Regions from separate parts of the Homo sapiens genome. Here region 1 is linked to region 2. The links are contacts of gene promoters, found by promoter capture Hi-C in human tissues and cell types (Jung and others, 2019). All regions are on one chromosome and are shown on one strand. Each heading gives the region's core, a stretch centred on a gene start or on the middle of the fragment in contact. The rest is flanking DNA. Distances are from core to core; before and after follow the strand shown.

Evidence for each region. The method cuts DNA at HindIII sites, captures the fragments that hold promoters and counts their contacts. A contact is called where the count stands out against the background at its distance.
Region 1: a fragment that was not itself captured here is called in contact with the fragment with the promoter of GAP43 in region 2 in 1 of the 25 tissues and cell types used here (dorsolateral prefrontal cortex).

Annotation. Positions count from the first base shown.
Region 1 is chr3:115,186,862-115,189,821 of GRCh38, forward strand. No RefSeq gene overlaps it. Among named protein-coding and RNA genes, the nearest start is that of ZBTB20, 41 kb to the left of the region's middle. RefSeq lists an enhancer at 101-290. The HindIII fragment of the contact is 3,214 bases long and covers 1-2,944 here.
Region 2 is chr3:115,622,197-115,624,989 of GRCh38, forward strand. It overlaps GAP43 (growth associated protein 43), which reads left to right and starts at 1,314. Exons shown (of 3, transcript NM_002045.4): 1 at 1,314-1,523. The coding sequence starts at 1,494. The HindIII fragment of the contact is 4,830 bases long and covers 1-2,793 here.

The sequences.
Region 1 (2,960 bases), core at 88-2,587, 440 kb before region 2:
CTACTTTTAATTCGGAGATGCATTCTAAAGGGTCTTCTCTATTGCTTTTTCTCCCAGAATTAATGTCAGTTTGGCTTGTATGTGCACATTTGCGTGAGAAGCTGAACTGTTGTTTTCATAGGTAAATGAGAGATTTAGTTTTCTTAGCTTCGAAGAGAATGAACATTTTGCTCCACCCAGCTGAAAGGCACCCGTGGGTGACCAGGGGCCTCGTGGGAGTGTAGAGAGGGTTGACCACCTGTGATTTGCAGCAGCCCTATGGAGAATCCCCATCAAACTTGTTTAAAAAAGGGCTCATCCAGGAAGCACATATGGGAGCTGGTCACTGAGCTTTGAGCCCTCCTGGAGGTGGTAGACCTCCAGAGAATGAAACTGAGACATGAAAGAGGGTGGCAACAACTCAGTGGTAACACACTATGGAGTCCCACCCACAATCAGCACACACCACAAAAACCCTAGGCCATAGCTCAGTTCCTCCTTTTAAGAAAAAAAAGAAAAAGAAAAGTGGGAAATTAATAATCTAAAAACGAGGATAAAACAAGGAGAATGACCCCCTTTGGGGCACTCCATTGGTTTTATGGCACCTCTACTTGTTAGAGTTTGTCTAAAATAGAATTATTATGGTCTTTGTGCACATTTACATGAAAGAAAAGGGGCACTAAGATCGACCTTCAAACTACAGAGTTCTTAAGTTCTCTTTTTCTCTGTTTTTTTTTCTCCCTGCTTTAAAGCTGCTATTACTTTTTGACCAAGATAAAATCCACTGTTAGACTCCAACCATTCCTTTTCATTACTGTTTTCGCAGACCAATAAGTTTGTATTAATATCTCACGGCTAGAGTTCTGAAGTAAAAGCTATAGGATCTTTAGTGTATGAAAATGTATGTGTGTGTTTATGTGTACGTACATGTATTTTGTTGTGTTTTGGCCACAAGGTACCAAATTGGCTTAGTGAGTAGTCATCAATTAAATAATGAACCCCAATGGTTTTTAAGTTCATGTGACTTAAGTAAAATCTTTAATAATCTAGCTTTAAAATTATTGGTAAAGAACAGTAGAAATGGCTTAAGAATTTTCAGCATACATGTTTATTTTCATTTATTGATCAAGCAATTTCATACTTATCTCTGCCAAATACTATAAGGTGTCAAAATTTGGCATAAGGGATACAAAACTATAAACCCAGCCCAAAATACAATTATCTTTGCTTGCATAATTTTTGATAAATAAGAGGTTGATATTGATTCAATGAAAATAGCTAAATATTGAATTATTTAGTGAAATAGCCATAACTTCTAATCTATAGCTTTAGGCAGTCAAGTCCCCAGGCAGGAAGGGGGTTTGTTTTGTGAGGGACTGTTATCATCTCTTTCAAAACTAAACTATAAACTATGATACTCCCAAAGTTAATTCATCCAATGCCCGGAAATGAACAAGGGCAGCTTAGAGGTTAAAAGCAAAATGGAGTAGGTTGGGTCAGACCTTTTTCATTGTCCCAGTTATAATTTTGCAGTTATAGTTTCATAACTTAAAATGATGACTATTGCAGGTATCATAAATAATCTAGGTACACTATTAAAATAATTAGGTAAATGTAATGGGATAAATATTTGTAGACAAACTTGTCATAATTTAGAAACTAAAGTTAAATTAAATAATAGGTATTTCATCAATTGGGTATTTTCAAAAAAATTGTAAGAAAACATTCTTTCTAAAGTGTATCCTTTTTAAAAGGTGAATAATTGTTGTCTAATTCAAAGCTTCTTTAAGGGTTATGTATACAACAAGGAAAAAGAAACCAGGAAATAAGACAGATGTAAAGAAAGTTATATTAATATAATTAAAGAGGTATTTTTGGTAAGAAAGCTTAAAGAAAAATGACTTTATATGAGAAAGAAGCTTATATGGTAAATTTTGTCCTAGAATAAAATAACTGGTTGTTTTAAAAATGAGGGATGTTCAGGACAAACCAGAACTTCCAAGCAGTCATGAATGGTCAGTGTAAGTCATAATGAGAGGATCTATTAAAAAAAAGAAAAACTTTTATGTGACCAAGCTGTCTATAATTAGAGGGAAATTATAATGGTCTTTCTAGAGATTGAGTTTTGATTAAAAAACACACTTATACATGAAAGAATTGGTTCAAACCATGACATTTTCTTAAGGTATTGCTCTACTCTTAATAAATTACAAGACATTATAATTTTTTTAATGCAAAGTTTAACTTTTACTGCATCTTGCTGTTTTCAGCTTTCTCTCGTCTTTTAAAAGACCTGAAATCAAACTCTATCCTTTAACTCATTTTCAATTCCTATAAGTTTTTTTTCCTACAGTTTCTAACTGTTGTGGCCTGATGCAAAAAAAAAAGAAAAGAAAGGTTTTATCTTAGAGGTCTAAAGGAAATGTTTCCTTCCAACATAATATTCCCCATAGGGAACAGTAGTTGCACTGCAGAAGGTCTTTTATTTTGCCTTTGGGTAACTGGCCTAATAATTAGATCTTACACTTTATCAAAATAATTCCCACGTCATTATTACTAAGTTTGGTATGCTTAGAAAAAACTGAGATTAAAAAGTTTTCTTAAAATTAAGATTATTGCATCTGTGTAACTTTCTGTATGTGATTTTAAAGTCCTTGTGCCATTAAGTAAGTTATAGGGCTTTGACTCCTGGGTCTAAAAAGGACATCAAGTCCTTCTAAATCTTAACACTGACAGTAGTTAAAGCCTTATCTTTAGATCCAGTGGAAGATGCCAATCAAAATAAATTGGGTTCGTGAGACACAAGGCCAGAAATTAAAGATATTCAGCTCGTAAGGATCAGGGACTATCATGGAAGAGATGGGTGATATTGTAAGGGCCGATTTTGAAACATAAAATAGGTTCAATTTCCCTGTAAATTAACCACCAATGTCAAAGGCACACTGATGCAAGACCAGTATATGGGCCCCTATGTCATATTA
Region 2 (2,793 bases), core at 64-2,563:
ATTCACTTGCAAATGTCACCCGAATTTCAGAAAAGTACAGTCTCTGGAGTAAAGCTATTATACACTCAGAGAGACTGTTGTGCTTTGCATGCGTTATATCATTTAGTCCTCAAAACATGTTGTCAAGATTGGCATTATTATCTCCATTTTAAAGATGAGAAAATTAGGTGCAAAGAGCTTCAGTAACACACTCAAACTCATTCAACAATAAATAACTAAAAATTGTGCTATACACACTTTAAGAGTCACATGTTCCTCCCCCAAAATTATGAAAGGCCATAGAAGGAATTCAAGAAGTAGGCTTCATGACTTATCGTTTCTTCTCATCTCAGATGAATTCACTTTAATCTCTCATGCCCAAATTGTAAAATATCATTTTGATCACCGTCAATATTACACAGACCTGTTTGAATGTGCTCAGCTTTTTCAGTAAAATTAGAAGAAACCACAATTTACAAACAGGTATATGTGCATTAAGGAAAAAACAAAAAACTACCATGTGATTTTAGATATGGATGCCAATTCTTAAACATTGTTTATTATTTCTGAGCTCAAGTGCTTAGAATGTTTAAAATGCAATATATTTATGTGGATTTTTTTCCAGGATATTGGAACATATATAAAATATGCTTGTGCATATCTAAGCTTTGTATTTATTTCAGGTTATATGTATACTGAGAAGAATATATAAACAGTGTATGATATTTACATGTTATTTCATTTTTTGAGGGAAATTAACCTCCACAATTATTAACTATGCATAAAATGTAATGGCAGATATGACTTATATTGTATAGGACTGACTACAATTCCTCTTTAGAAATAGCTGTTCTTTGCTTTTATAATACTAGGAAAAGAGGAAAAGAGTTCTTAAAGAAATACAAGGATTCCTCAAGCCCCTCTTCCCTAAAACATGCTCTATCATATCTCCTGGATTGACTGGAATATCCTTCTCTGCCCCCACCCCATCACCCTCTCAATGCAGTGGAAAAGTCGGTGGGTAATTGGGTCCAGATTGGAGGTGTTTAAATATTCATGAGGCTGGCAGGGGACTGGGAGGGGGCGACTGTCTAGAATGGGGGTAGGGGCTGGGGGAAGTGATTAGTCACTGAAGGCTAGAGAACAATTCCGAGAAAGAGACGGAGAGAGAGGGAAGAAAAAGACAGATAGATAGATATTGGGGGGAAGGAGAAAAAAGGAGAAGAGAGGGAAGAGAGGACAGCGGAGAGAGAGCACCAGAGAGAGAGGGAGAGAGAGAGAGAGCGCTAGAGAGAGGGAGCGAGCATGTGCGATGAGCAATAGCTGTGGACCTTACAGTTGCTGCTAACTGCCCTGGTGTGTGTGAGGGAGAGAGAGGGAGGGAGGGAGAGAGAGCGCGCTAGCGCGAGAGAGCGAGTGAGCAAGCGAGCAGAAAAGAGGTGGAGAGGGGGGGAATAAGAAAGAGAGAGAAGGAAAGGAGAGAAGGCAGGAAGAAGGCAAGGGACGAGACAACCATGCTGTGCTGTATGAGAAGAACCAAACAGGTAGAGCTAAAGATTTTTTACTTCTTGCTGTTGTGAAATAACCCGAGTACAGTATTTCCCCGTAAAGGCAAACAATTTTTTTACTGCTTCTGCTCTGGCCGTGGTGCTCGCGCTTCCTTAGCATATGGTAACTGATGGTTGCATCCCAGCTTTTATTCTTTTCTGTCTTTCATGCTCTGGTTTTGGAATGCTGCTACTAATTAGGGTGAGGGTAGAAAAAACATGCCTGTTTGGCTAGAAATAATTTTTTTTTTTCTTATTAGTGAATGCTCAGCATTTGAGGTCTCTGGTCTTGAGGGTGTGGACGTAGAAAGGGGTGTGGGGGAGATGATGTGGGCTCTACCTACAAGATGGGGAGGCATTTCTTTATATTATTTGCAAAAAAGCAGGGTTGAGGAAATAATATTCAGAACTGAGTATTGCCTCTCTGTCATACAATTTTCTCACATGTGCTGCGGAAGATGCCTTATTTCGTGCATGCATGAGCTTCGAAGGGGCGCAGGTATTTATGGAAAAACGTGCAGGTCTTATTTATTTAGTATTTATTTTTCAATGAATGAATGAAACTGTGATTTGATAGATTTTTTTTTTTTTTAAGAGAAGCTAAGACAACTGGGGCTGGGGGAGAAATTGGCCATGCAGAAGGAGAAAATCCCCTTCCTAAGATCAGCAGCCGATTGTGCACCAGCTGGTCGGAGGAGAGGGTGGACCACGCCCCTAGGAGCTCCGATGGGATGGGAAAGACAGCCGGGTATTACCTGTTGGAAACCAGGTCTTTTCTCTTATCCCCTTCCCTTGCTTCTTTCCTGGGATTGTCAGTGACCAGAGACAGGCTAACATCCTGGATAATAAGTATGGTGACTCATTTTCATCAGGAAGAGGGACACATCCAAGATTAGCAAGAATCAGAGCCCCTCCTTCCCTCCCCCACTGCCCAGGTTTTACAGCCATTTCCAATTGCTCGCTTATTTCTTGAAAGACATTTTAGAAACTTGATTGGGGTGAGAGTGGGAAGGAATGACGAGTGTGGTATTCCGCAGCAACCGACCATGCCATGGCAGTCTCCAAAAGAAGCTTTCAAACATTTGTTGGAATGCATTTGAGTGATTTTGGCAAAGGTTAAAGAGAAAAATGGGTGTGGGATACGGGTGAGTGTGTGCGTATGCTTGACTGTGGTGGGGGTGGGGGTGTGGTGGGGGCAATCTTGGTCAAAGAAGCCCTTCGCAGACTGATTGCCTTAGGGGTGGGGTGCAAGAGATGGAATTTGGGT